2 separate regions of the Homo sapiens genome follow, and region 1 is linked to region 2. Evidence: promoter capture Hi-C in 16 types of primary human blood cells and fetal thymus (Javierre and others, 2016). All regions are on one chromosome and are shown on one strand. The core of a region is centred on a gene start or on the middle of the fragment in contact, and the rest is flanking DNA. Distances in the headings are between cores, read along the strand shown.

Evidence for each region. The method cuts DNA at HindIII sites, captures the fragments that hold promoters and counts their contacts. A CHiCAGO score of 5 or more calls a contact.
Region 1: a fragment that was not itself captured here is called in contact with the fragment with the promoter of ISM1 in region 2 in 2 of 17 cell types (activated CD4 T cells and naive CD4 T cells); the score reaches 6.7 in activated CD4 T cells.

What each region holds. Positions count from the first base shown.
Region 1 is chr20:13,754,387-13,761,405 of GRCh38, forward strand. ESF1 (ESF1 nucleolar pre-rRNA processing protein) reads right to left here. Exons shown (of 14, transcript NM_001276380.2): 9 at 5,306-5,467. Among named protein-coding and RNA genes, the nearest start is that of ESF1, 27 kb to the right of the region's middle. The HindIII fragment of the contact is 2,329 bases long and covers 236-2,564 here.
Region 2 is chr20:13,216,982-13,223,563 of GRCh38, forward strand. It overlaps ISM1 (isthmin 1), which reads left to right and starts at 4,293. Exons shown (of 6, transcript NM_080826.2): 1 at 4,293-4,933. The coding sequence starts at 4,796. It also overlaps a transcript of TASP1 not described here. RefSeq lists silencers at 4,076-4,195, 4,655-4,724. The HindIII fragment of the contact is 8,964 bases long and covers 1-6,582 here.

The DNA of each region.
Region 1 (7,019 bases), core at 150-2,649, 530 kb after region 2:
GATCAGCTTTTGAACCTTTCTTTTTTACCTATATTCACTACCTTGTTGTTCTTATTCACTTTCAGAGATTTATACAATGAAGATTCTCTAATTTATATCTCTACCAGCCCTGTACTCTTAACTGTATAACCAACTGATTCCTTGGCATGTCTATTTAGGTATCAATGGGCATCTTGAACTTAATGTATGAAAAAAAAAATTCTTGATGCTCCCTTGCAAACATGTTCCATCCACAAGCTTCATTATCTGAAAATTACTCCAACAGCCATTTGATTGATCTCCCCAATTTGGTCCTTGCCCCCCACTTTAATCTACTTATCTATAGCAGCAAGAATGATCCTGTTAAATATAAAAGTCAGATTTGACTGCTCCTGAGCTCAAAACTCTCCAGTGGTTTCTCATCTCAGTCACAGAAATTCATGTCTTTATAATGGCCTACAAGGCTTTCATGTCTGGCCCCAAACTACCTCTCTGATCTCAGTTACTTCTGTCCTCCACTGTAGTCATACTGTTCTCCTTGGATTCCTCAAACACAAGAGACAAAGTATAGCTTCAAGGATACTCCTATGCTACTTCCTCTGCTCACACAGTCTTCCTGGGCCAGGCTCACTCCCTGACCTCTACTTTCTTTAGTTCCTGGTCAAATATGTTTCTTATATATCTGTCATCTGTTTAGTTTCTCCTTCACCGGAGTATAAGATCTGTGAGTTCAGGGATTTTTATGTTTTGTTCACACAGTGTATAGAATAATTCCCGGCACAGAGTAGGTATTCAGTAAGTATTTGATGGAGTAAGGAAGAGAAGTTGGGGTTCTGTAGAGTGCTGAGTAGAAAAAAGACCAGCTATCCATTTCACTAATATCTATTAGGCCAGAGATAGCTAAGAAAAACAGGACTTTTACCATAATCAAAAATTTAAGATTATAAACAAACATGCCATTATTTATTTCTGGATGGAATTTCATATATATTGTTTATATTCAGCTTGCATTATCTACAAAAAATATTATGTAGATTAACTGGACTATTAATACAGGGGAAGTTATATAAAGAGTTAAAACTGATTACACTTCATTTATACGTGTATTAGAAATTCCTCAACGAGGTACATTTCTTGATGAAGGCCCAACTGGCTAATTATATGCATCACCTTATCTACTCCTTAGTAAGTTGGCAGGATACCTTTAGCAACGCATTGAGATAGGAAATACAACTTCACATACATCAAAATAATTAAGTATAACTTTCTTTAAAAATTTTATAATTCAACATTTTTACTTATTTATAATCCTAATTAATAAAATTGTATTATTACATTTCCATAGGAACTAAAATATTGATAGAAAGAGTAGCTCATTCCAGTTGTTATGCCCACAAACCTGTTATCAGTTCCCTTAATACTTACCCTTAAGAAATTAAACTCCTCATGTTACTATACTGTATAACCCAATGTAAAAAGGTAGAACGTTTAAATAGTCTAAACTAGAATTTCTTCTGAAAAATCAAACCAAACCACAATAAATGTTAGTGATTAAGAGTACTTATTTTCCTGAAGAGGTTAATATTTTGGAGAGTCAAGCCACAGAACCAATGAATGATACGGTATAATCTCATACTGACCCTCCGTGGTTTACTGAAGCATAACATCAAAAAAGTCCTGAGGTTCAGGGTAACTGTTACAGAAAACACACATTTCTTAAGACATAAATTCACTGAAATACACGTCATGAAAGTACTTTGTAGTTTATAACGTTTGTAAGTATCTCTAAGCAAGAAAGTGGTATTATTAGTTCCAATTTCCATATGAATAAACTGAGGTACAGAAAGATTGCTCAATGATCTTATATGTATAGCACACAGAAAAACCCTTTACACTTGCATGTGCATGCGTGCATGTACATAAGGATTCACAGATAACAATACCTCATTAGGGGCCTTCAAAATATTACAGTTTAAGACCTTTGAAACTCATACATTAAAATATCAATTTTCCCCTATTCAATTAAAAGTAAAAAATATATACCCAATGTTGACGATAATTCCGTGAAACTGACACTCTTACTGATTGTTGAAGGTATTATAAGCTGGTACAACACTTCCAGAAAGCAATTTGGCAATAACTTCAAGACACAAAAAGTATTCATGCCCTTTCTTAGTAACTCTATTTCTGGGAAACTATCCTATGAAAATAATTCAAAATATGGAAAAAGCTATAGGTTATTTATAACATCCCAGATACTTGGCATCTGGGATTTAACATTTGAGGTTTTGACACTGGTAGTTTTAACAGCTTGTGAGAGAACCACAGGTTGATCTACAGCACATGTAGAGTTGCTGTGTGAGCAAGGAAGTCACGTAACTAACTAGTGAGTTAAGCCTGAATGCTAGGCATCAGCTTCTCATTGTGGCCTGGTTGTTCTCTACTAGTCCTGACATGCTTGGAAACATTTCTAGGCTGGGAGAGATGAAAAACACACCTCTGTTTTAAAAGTTTTTAAAATTAAAAGGCCCTAAAAAGGCAAGCCAATTACTTGGCTGCTCATGAAAATGAAGAAATTTAAGAAAAGCTTGTTATTTGTGGGTTTGAGATCTGTCCTATTTTTTTTTCAATGTTATAAGTCCACTGTAGTGAAAGATTAGAAATCTGATTGCATATTCAACAACAGAGAAATGGTAAATTAAACTGTAATCTTCTTAACCAGTGGTTGAATTAGGATAGTGGAATTACAGATGATAATCTTTCATTTTACATTTTCACTTCATAAGGTCAACATTACCCTAATACCAAAAACCAATACGAGGAATGAAAACTACAGATCATATTCCTCTTTGCCACAAGTACAAATATTTTTAATAAAATATTACTAAATTAAGCTGGGAATATATAAAAAGATAAGGTACCATGACCAAGGTGGGGTTTATCTGAGGAAATATAAGCAATGCTTATAACTTCCAGTTACAGATAACAGGTGTAAATACCACTTTTAGGTATTTGCCCTACATTACTATGTTTTGTTTGTTTGTTTGTTTGAGACAGGGTCTCATTCTGTTGCCTAGGCTGGAGTGCAGTGGCATGATCACAGCTAACTGCAGCCTCAACCTCCTTGAGCTCAGGTGATCCTACCACCTCAGCCTCCCCAGTAGCTGGGACTACAGGCGTGTGCCACCATGCCCAGCTAATTTTTGTATTTTTTTGTAGAGATGGAACAGTTTTGCCATGCTACTCGGGCTGGTCTCGAACATCTGAGGCTCAAGTAATCCACCCACCTTGGCCTCTGAAAGTGTTGGGATTACAGGTGTGAGCCCCTGTGCCCGGTTTCATAATTATGTTAATAAAGACACAATCTAGATGTGGTCCACTTAGTGTGGGAACCTGTATCATATATCTGTACCTTACAACTGGCATTATATATTTCTGAAATATTTGCTATAAAACACCTCAATCCAGTTTATTTTAGATCTGCTTTCTCAGACAACTGAACACTTCAATTTAAAAATGTTCATATTAAAATATATTCAATAAGCTCATTCTAAGATTAGAATTAAACTACAATATATTCAACTTAAAAGACAGAATTCAACATTTCTTAGAATCATAAAGTCAAGGGACTCAAGTAAAATATTTCTTAACAGACATCTCTGAGTAGCATAATTATGTAGCCTTATGGTGGAGATTTACTGACACAGAGAGCTCAACCCCTTAAAGCAGCCTTCAGTTCTTCTGCGAGACAATTCTAATAATATAGAGAATTCCTCTTTATATTATTACGTTAAAATCTACCTTCCTTCAACTTTTATCCACTGGCAGTACTGCTAACCTGTGAGGTAATAAAAGAGATTAAGTCTTCATTTACATATTCTGCAAGTATTTAAAAATAGCTGTTAAAATCACTTTTTAGACTTTTCCTCTCCAGGCCAAATCAATTGAGTTCTCCCAACCACTTGTCATATGATACACCAGTAAACTTCATTCGTTCTTACCACCACTTCCTGCAAAAGCCAAACATTTAAAACAAATGGGTTGCAACACAGCACTTCATTCCTGTAGGAATATGCAGCAGACCATCCTAGCAAATTTACTACAATAGCCAGTGTCCATCCTAGCAAATTTACTACAATAGCCAGTCAATCCTCAAATATCAAAATACCCTATTTTTTTCCCAAATAAAAACCCACGCAAACATATGTTTTATTCCCAATACAAAAGCACGCTACTTATAAAAATGGAATTGGTAACAGAACACCTTTAAGTTTTAAGCAATGGTATTCCTACAACTGGTTAGTACTCTTTCTCCTAGTGACTAATATAGGCTAAAGAACTGAACCCTTATCCAAAAATATATCTGGTTTTAAAAGTTATACACATATATAATATAAACAGCAGTAATCTATAAAAACAGTATTGACTGCAGAAGTCCCTGATGATTTGCCCAACAATGTTGAAAAAAATGTGTACAGTAGTCCCCCATTATCTGAGGAGGATACATTCCAGGACCCACAGTGAATGTCTGAAATCATGGATAGTACTGAATCCTATAGCTAGTATGTTTTTTCCTATACATCTACAGCTATGATAAAGTTTAACTTATAAATTAGGCACAGTAAGAGATTAACAACACCAACAATAAAACAGAATAATTACACTGTAATAAAAGTTATATGAATATAATCTCTCTTCCTCTTTCTCTTTCAAAGTATCTTATTGTACTATACTGGGTAACAAACTGCAGAAAGTGAAACCATGAAAAAGGGGCAACTGCTGTTTACTACAGAATGATCCCATTTATCCCAGCTTTTATCTTTGTTTAGCTTTGACATGATTTTAATTAGTTTTGTACTAGTACTATTTTACTCTACTATGCTATATTTCTTTGACTATTCGCAGCAAGATTGAAAATCGAAGACTATGTAATACATATTTTGTGTTAGTGAAACCTCATGAATTAAGGACTAGTGGGGGTTATGGAAGAAAAGGTCACTTAAGAATTAAACATTCAAAAGAAGTGTAATAACTTTAGAACACGTGGTGCCTGGATTCAAGTTTCTATATCTTGAGAATACAGGCTCAAACCTAGGAAAAGCTACTCTGATAAATGGACAGGAAAAATTTATAGTTAGTAAATCAAAGAAACCAATTAAAAATAAGTTGGTAAGAGTCTAAAATGCTAGTCATTAAGTTAGTTAAATGGTGTATGCAAATATGATGTTAAGGTCCTCACCAAAACATTTCCGGCTCCTTCATATTTAAAAGGTACTCAACATGCTGAAATTCGAAAAAGAGAAAACATTTAGTATCTAATTCTTACCTGGAACCCATTTAATTTCCATTTCCATATCATTTTCTTTGCCTTTCTTTTCTTTTTCTTGAATAACCTGCAAGAGCTGCCTGTATTTAGCAATTTGTTCTTCATCATCCTTCTGACTTTTCTTTGTTTTCCCATCTTCTTCTACATTGACTCCATCATCACCTAATGAAAAAAAAATTCACTTAATACACAGAAACAATTCATTTCTAACTCGTGTTCAGATCTTATGGTCACTCTCTTTTAAAAGATGCTGTTAGACCACAGGATATCAAAATCAGACTTAAATTTCTGAATATTAAATGAAAGACTTAGGGTCTCATGTAGAATAAAAATCAGTTGCAATATAAATTTGCACTGTCATAGCAGTATGCTTGGGAATGCCCCTTTTTATTAAAATTTATATTGGATAATAATTCTGCAGTTACATAACATCTTTGGGCTTCTTTTTCCTATAAGCTGCAAGATAATGAAGATGGCATTTTCACCCTCTCTGGGAAGTGAGGAGCGTCTCTGCCTGGCCGCCCATCGTCTGGGATGTGAGGAGCCCCTCTGCCTGGCTGCCCAGTCTGGAAAGTGAGGAGCGTCTCTGCCCGGCCGTCATCCTATCTAGGAAGTGAGGAGCGCCTCTTCCCGGCCGCCATCCCATCTAGGAAGTGAGGAGCATCTCTGCCCGGCCGCCCATCGTCTGAGATGTGGGGAGCGCCTCTGCCCTGCCGCCCCGTCTGGGGTGTGAGGAGCGCCTCTGCCCGGCCGCGACCCCGTCTGGGAGGTGAGGAGCGTCTCTGCCCGGCCGCCCCATCTGAGAAGTGAGGAGACCCTCCACCCGGCAGCCACCCCGTCTGAGAAGTGAGGAGCCCCTCCGCCCGGCAGCCGCCCCATCTGGGAAGTGAGGAGCCCCTCCGCCCGGCAGCCACCCCGTCTGGGAAGTGAGGAGCGTCTCCGCCCGGCAGCCGCCCTGTCCGGGAGGGAGGCGGGGGGTCAGCCCCTGCCAGGCCAGCCGCCCCGTCTGGGAGGGAGGCGGGGGGTCAGCCCCCACCGGCCAGCCGCCCCGTCCGGGAGGGAGGTGGGGGGGTCAGCCCCCGCCCGGCCAGCCACCCCGTCTGGGAGGTGAGGGGTGCCTCTGCCCGGCCGCCCCTACTGGGAAGTGAGGAGCCCCTCTTCCCCGGCCACCACCCCGTCTGGGAGGTGTACCCAACAGCTCATTGAGAATGGGCCATGATGACAATGGCGGTTTTGTGGAATAGAAAAGGGGGAAAGGTGGGGAAAAGACTGAGAAATCGGATGGTTGCTGTGTCTGTGTAGAAAGAAGTAGACATGGGAGACTTTTCATTTTGTTCTGTACTAAGAAAAATTCTTCTGCCTTGGGATCCTGTTGATCTATGACCTTACCCCCAACCCTGTGCTCTCTGAAACATGTGCTGTGTCCACTCAGGGTTAAATGGATTAAAGGCGGTGTAAGATGTGCTTTGTTAAACAGATGCTTGAAGGCAACATGCTCATTAAGAGTCATCACCACTCCCTAATCTCAAGTACCCAGGGACACAAACACTGCGGAAGGCCGCAGGGTCCTCTGCCTAGGAAAACCAGAGATCTTTGTTCACTTGTTTATCTGCTGACCTTCCCTCCACTATTGTCCTATGACCCTGCCAAATCCCCCTCTGCGAGAAACACCCAAGAATGATCAATTAAAAAAAAATAAATAAAATAAAAATAC
Region 2 (6,582 bases), core at 3,043-5,542:
CCAGGAAGAAACAGGTTTTGGGGAACACAGAACAGCCTCCACCACAATCCCTAAATACTAATCATTCTCACACCCAGAAAACGTCTCTGGCTGTGACTTCTCAAATCTGTTTTAAAGCTCAGATTCAATATGCATGTGTTTAAAAAACATTGCTTAATTGAGCCCTTACCTTTTTGAGATGCATACTGAAATATGTACATATGAAATGACATATCATGAATTTGCTTAAAATAATCTGAAACGGAGGAAATTTTTGAAAATACTGAGAATGCAGGTAAGACAAGATTGGCCATAAGTTTTGTTGAAGCTGGCTTATGAGTAAGGATTTAGTATATTATTCTCTTTACTTTTGTATATATTAAAAACTTTCCATAGTAAAAAAAATTAAGGATTACATTGAAACTACTCTTTGCTATGTTGTACCACTCTTTGGCAAAATAAAATAAAAACAATAAAATCCTAGTCATAATAGGCCACAAGGTTCTCTGCAATGATAGTAACTACAGGTGTTCTGGCTTATTAATTTCTCTTACTTCCTTAAAATATTCCAGTCAAATAAGCCTGCCTGTAAGATAAATGGGACCAATAATGAAAGACAAAATCTACGTGAGAATAGTACAATCAAGAGGCAGAATGGTTATAAAAGTTAATGTCAGACACCTATAGTACAAGCACTCCTAGGAAAGGTAATCTATTACTTGGGGTATAAACAAATACCAGATTTGTTACATGCATTTTAAAAACACTAATTGAGAATTACTCTGTGCAAGGCATTGTCTCAAAGATTATACTTGTCAGGATGTATATACTATTATACCAGCTGCTGTGCAAACATCCCTACATCACAATGTCTATGAACAAAGTTTTATCTCACTTGCTCAAGGTTCAATGCAGATATTCCTGGTCCAATTTTTCTCTTTTGAGCAGTAACTCAATTTGAGTTCCTTTCACCTCAGAGTCCTTTGCCATGTAGAAAGGAAAGAGAGGGCTGGGCACGTTGGCTCATGCCTGTAATCCCAGCACTTTGGGAGGCCGAAGCGGGTGGATCATTTGAGGTCAGGAGTTTGAGACCAGCCTGGCCAATACGGTGAAAATCTCTCTCTACTAAAGAGTACAAAAATCAGCCAGGCGTGGGGGCAGGATTCTGTAATCCCAGCTACTCCGTAAGCTGAGGAAGGAGAATTGCTTGAACCTGGGAAGCAGAGGCTGCAGTGAGCTGAGATCGCACCACTACACTCCAGCCTGGGTGACAGAGTGACTCTGTCAAAAAAAAAAAAAGAATGAATGAATGAAAAAGAAAAAAAAAAGGAAAGAGAGAGTGTGTGCAGATAATCACTCAGGATGTTTTATGGTCAACCTGGAAGGAAAAAAGCTCTTCACAGCCCAAACCTAGATCCAAGTATACCTAGAAAATGTCTCATAGCCATGAACCCAGAAAGAAAACTAGATACTGGGATGGAGGTGGGGAGTGGGGCGATGCTCTGAAATGTTCTACCACAAAGGTGATCCCAATCAAGGTCTAGTGGGAAAACAGACATGCAAACAGACACAAGTGCCCCAAGTGTCATAAAATCAGTAATAACGATATGAATAGGGTGCTCTGGACGCTCTGCTGAAGGAGGTAGGATTTTAAACATTTTTATCAGCTATTGGTACAATTTCATAAATGTGCTTGAAACTTAATTGGTTTAGTCTATTAAATTTGTAATTGTTTTTCCACAAAAATTGTAAGCCCGTGTTCCCTAACTCAAAAACAGAGCCCTGCTGGCAAGCCTGGTTCGGCAACTGGAATCAGAGCGTGGGTGTTTATCAATACTCGTTATATGTGCTTACTGGAACATAAATTCACCTGGAATGGGGATCTCTCAGCGTGAAGGGATTTTAATAGGATTCATTCATACATTTGTTCAACATTTTATAAAGACATCTGTCCCCAAAATTCAATTTACAATTTTTACAACATTTTACAAAGACTTTGATCTCCAAATCTCCATTTACAAATTATTTTACAAGAATTTACATTCATTGCAAAGGTTTCTTTCCAGAGTTTTTTAAAGGTCATTTTTGCCTTGGGTCCAAAACTGTTACTTTTAGATGAGAGGAGAAGCAGCTGAGGTTTACATGTGGAGACTGTGTGTGATGAAAGGGCAGGACACAGCGGCCCCTGGATCCTAATTCAGACCAGCCTGCCTCTGGCAATAGGAAAGTCATTTGTTCCTGCGAGCCCGTATCATAATCTGGCACAACTGGAGGTTAGAACAATCCTTAAAACTCTTTGGCTGTGGGATTCTAGTTTGCCATCTTAATTTATACATTCTATTTCGGCGCTGATTCTCCAGCCCTTTCCCTTTTAAGTGATCCTAATTAGAAAACACACAGGAGGATCCTTCCAGGATTTAAAAGCTGCTGGGATCCCCTCTTTGATCTCCCATCTGAAATACGGACGGTTATTGTTTCGCGTTTCCCCCCACTCCCCCCGACCCGCACTCCAGTGACAATTATTGGCATTTTAGAGCCTAGAGATAGAAATAAGATGTCTGACAGGCCCGGCTGCCTAAAAATCCAAAGCAAGCACCCCTCCAAACATCTCCCCTCCTCCCTCGCACCGTTCCCCACCCAAAAAAAAATAATGAAAAGGAAAAAATATAGCAGACTCTATAAACAGCTGCCAATTTATTAATAAGATGCTGGAGTTAGTTAGAATTTTAAAGATGCTTCAGGCATCTTTAAGGAGGCAGCAAGCCCTTCCTCTCCCGGGCACAAATAAGCCCAACCAGCAGACCCTACCTTAACTACCGCTATTTAAATTCTGCAAAGTACCGCGGTGACCGGAGGAACCTTCGCAAAGGCGCAAGGGTTTGCCTTAATTTGGTTAATACTTGGTTGAGATGCCTTGCGAGAACTCGAAAGCAGTTGAATTAAGAATCTTAAATCTTTCTAGGACGCGGAGAAGGAAGGTAGGAAATTGGGGAGGGGGAAAGGGAGGCGTGCCGTCAAGAAAGAGTTGATTATTTATTTAATTTCATTCACCAAGGGAGAATTCGGAGGCTCCATCCCGGAGGCACTGGGGTCCGGGACGCGGGAAAGGCTTGGAAATGTGCGACGCGGCTGTGTGCGAACGCGTGGACTAGGTCTTGGCTCGCTGGGAGGGAAGGGCTGGGCCGGCGCTGGGGAGGAGGAAGGGAGGGAACGGGTAGGAGGAGGGGAAGCGCAGTATAAAAGTCCCGGCCGGACTGAGCGTCCGCTACTCCGAGTCACTTCGGTAAGGCGGGAGCCCGAGCAAGGTCAAGGAGGGAAGTGCGCGGTGCCACGGACCGACACAGTTCGCTCTAGCATCTGACGCTCGGACTCCGCGCCCTCAGCCGGATCCCAGAGCCCTTCCATTCGCCAACCGCCCACTGCAAGGCATGAGCCGCACGCGGGAGCCCGAGGCTGCAGCGCGGTCATGAGGCGGTGGCCCGGGATCGACAGCTGCGCGACGCCAGCCCCCAAATCCCCTCTGGGCGCGGCACCCCCGGGATGAGCCCCCCACAGAGGCAAGCCCACTAGAGCTGAGATTCACTCCGAGTTCCTGAGCGCCTGAGCCGCGGGCACTGCGTCTCTGCAGCTTCCAGCCAACACCTGCGCCCGTGACCAGACGAACGCCTAGAGAGTCGGACTCCCCTCCCTTCCCAGGCTCTACGGGGCGCCGCGGATCCGCGAACAGCCGTGCCCGGCTAGCGGGCGGCCCAGCAAGTGTCAAGACCCTTCGGAACGACACTTTGGCACTCCTCCTCTCCCCCGACTGCTTCAGGCAGGGGTCGCAGGCAGACGCATGGCTTGTCCGGCGCCCCCTCCGTTTTCCATCACTGCAACTCCAGCTCCAGTTTGCCAATAAAGGTTTCTAAAGCAGCCCAGGCACCACCCCACCCACCCACAGCCCCGAGCCTCAGTGTGCACAAGGGCTCTACCCGCGCCCGTCACAGCGACCTCGGCAGCGGGCACTTGGTACAGCCCGGCAGGCTGACGCTGCCGCCGAGGGCGCCCCGGCTACCGCCAAACCGTGACAACCTCGGTGTGCCCGGGGCCCCCATCTGGAACCGGCCCTCCCCGGGACTCCGAGTGCGGGGCGGCGCGGCAGGCGGCCCCGAGGAGCGCGGAGAGTAGTGGAGGTGGCTTGCCGGGTGAGTGGCTCGGGGCGGCGAGGGCGGGGGCGCCAAGCGTGGAGGTAACTCCCGGCCGCAGCTGAAGCCCTCCTACTCCTCCTCCTCCTCCTCCTCCTCCTCCTCCTCCTCCTCCTCCTTCTCCTTCTCCTCCTCCTCCTCCCCGCGCTTCTCTGGCGGCCGCTCCCGCTCCAGCTGCGGCGCCGCGGCCACATCTGGGGCGCCCATGTGCGCTCGGGGGCTCGGCTGCGCCCGCCCCGCCGCCGACCCCGCAGCCCCCTGCCAGCAGGGTGGCCTCCGGCCCGGCCCGGGTCCCGGGCTGTCCCGGGACCCAGTCTCCGTCTCCGCCGCCGCCGCCGCCAGGCAGCGCCGGGGCTTGCTCCGCAGCCGGCTTGGACACCCCCGGCCTCGCGGTGGCTCCGCCGTGGTGCGGCGGCGGCGGCGGCGGCGGCGCCGGCAGCTCCTGCTCCCCCGGCCCCGCACACCCCGCCGCGCCCAGCGCCAGCCCCGCGGGCCCGGGAAGCGGAGCCCTGGCGGGAGCCGAGGCGGGAGCCGCGCTGCCGGGCTCCCGGGCTCCTACTCCTCCTCCCCCGGCGTCACCGCCGCCGCCGCCGGCCGCCGCGCCGGGTCCTAAAGCCGCGCGTCTCAAAAGGATGGTGCGCCTGGCGGCCGAGCTGCTGCTGCTGCTGGGGCTGCTGCTGCTCACGCTGCACATCACCGTGCTGCGCGGCTCGGGAGCCGCCGACGGGCCCGACGCGGCCGCGGGCAACGCCAGCCAAGCCCAGCTGCAGGTGAGTGCGCCGCCGGAGAGGGCCGTGCGCGGCTGCGGGGACGGTTTGTGGGGCGGGGGTGCTGAGCTAGTGCCGGGTGGATGCAGGGAGGCAGGTCCCCTGCCCCACCTAAGAGCAACTGTTTTGGCAGTAGTTTTGCCCGGGCCACTTGACTTAGGCAGAGGCGGAGCGGGGGCACGTGCCTGGAGGCTGCACCCGGCTTCCAGGTCTGCGGGCTGCGCTCCTTCAGTTCTGTCTGTCACGGGTCAGGTGCGGGGTTGGTGGGGAGGTGGGAAGGAGCGAGGTTTGGGATGAGCAGAGGAAGTGTGGAGAATGTGCTTGCTTGGGGGTGCTACCAGTCTTTCGTTGCCCTTCGGAGGCTGAGTAATGTTACTCGAGGCTGGAGGGACGCAAGGAGACTTTATAGGATGATATCCCTGAAGTCTTTGGGAGAAAGAACTCCGGGAGTCTACCCCTTTAGGAAGCAATGCCAAAGGTCAGGACATAATTTCCCAAGGAGAATAGCCAGGCATCCCCTCCTCACCCTCAGGGTTCCCTTGCTTCCAGTGTTCCTCTTCCTCCGGGAGCCTCGCCTGAGGTTCCCCCCTCCCCCCTTGTGCCCCCTTGGTCATGGGGAAGGTGCAGAGTGAAGGCACCGGTAGTGATTTGGGCCAGGGTTACCTGGGGCTTTTAAACTTGTAGCAAAGTCTTTCTCCCAAGGATCTTCCCCGTTGAAGGTCGCTTTAGCAATGGGATTCTGTTTATCCATTTCAACTTCAGGGCAAGGAGAGGGCGTAGTGGACGGTCAGACATAATGTGAGTTCTGACTTAGGAATAGAATTGCCCAGCTAGGCATTTCCTGCCGCTATGTTAGCGCCTTTCCTTGAGTCTAGGGGTGGGACAACTGTAAACTTGGAGCATAGGCAAAAGCAAGCAGGGATTTTCCCAGGAGGCAGAGGGGATTCTCTGGCTCCTAAAATCTGCTCAAACCAGGCGCGGTGGCTCACGCCTGTGATCCCAGCACTTTAGCAGGCAGAGGCGGGTGGATCACCTCAGGCCAGGTGTTGGAGACTATCCTGGCCGACATGGTGAAACCCCGTCTCTACTAAAAATACAAAAATTAGCTGGGCGTGGTGGCGCACGCCTGTAGTCCCAGTTACTCGGGAGGCTGAGGCAGGAGAATTGCTTGAACCCGGGAGGTTGTAGTGAGCTGAGATCGCGCCACTGCACTCCAGCCTGGGCGACAGAGCGAGACTCCGTCTCAAAAAAAAAATAAAATAAAATAAAATAAAATAAAATAAATAAATAAATAAATAAAATGAAATAAGCATTATTCATTGTTCCCAAAGGCCTTTATATTCATTGTCTTTGATAATTCACTTTTTACATCTTTATACAATTTATTGCGAAAAACTTTACCGTAAAGAGAAAACTAATAAAACACTTCCATTGTGTTTACTACGTGCCACCGTTTTAAGTACTTTACAGAATTTAACTCACTTAATTTAACCATAATCTTACAAGACATGGTACTGTTAATATAGCCTCATTTACAGATGCAAAAACTGAGGTACAGAGAGGTTAAAAAACTTGTCAAAGTTCAGACATTCCAAACTCTTGATTACACCAAATTTTGTCTCTACCAGGATAGACTAAAGCAAGGTGATTAT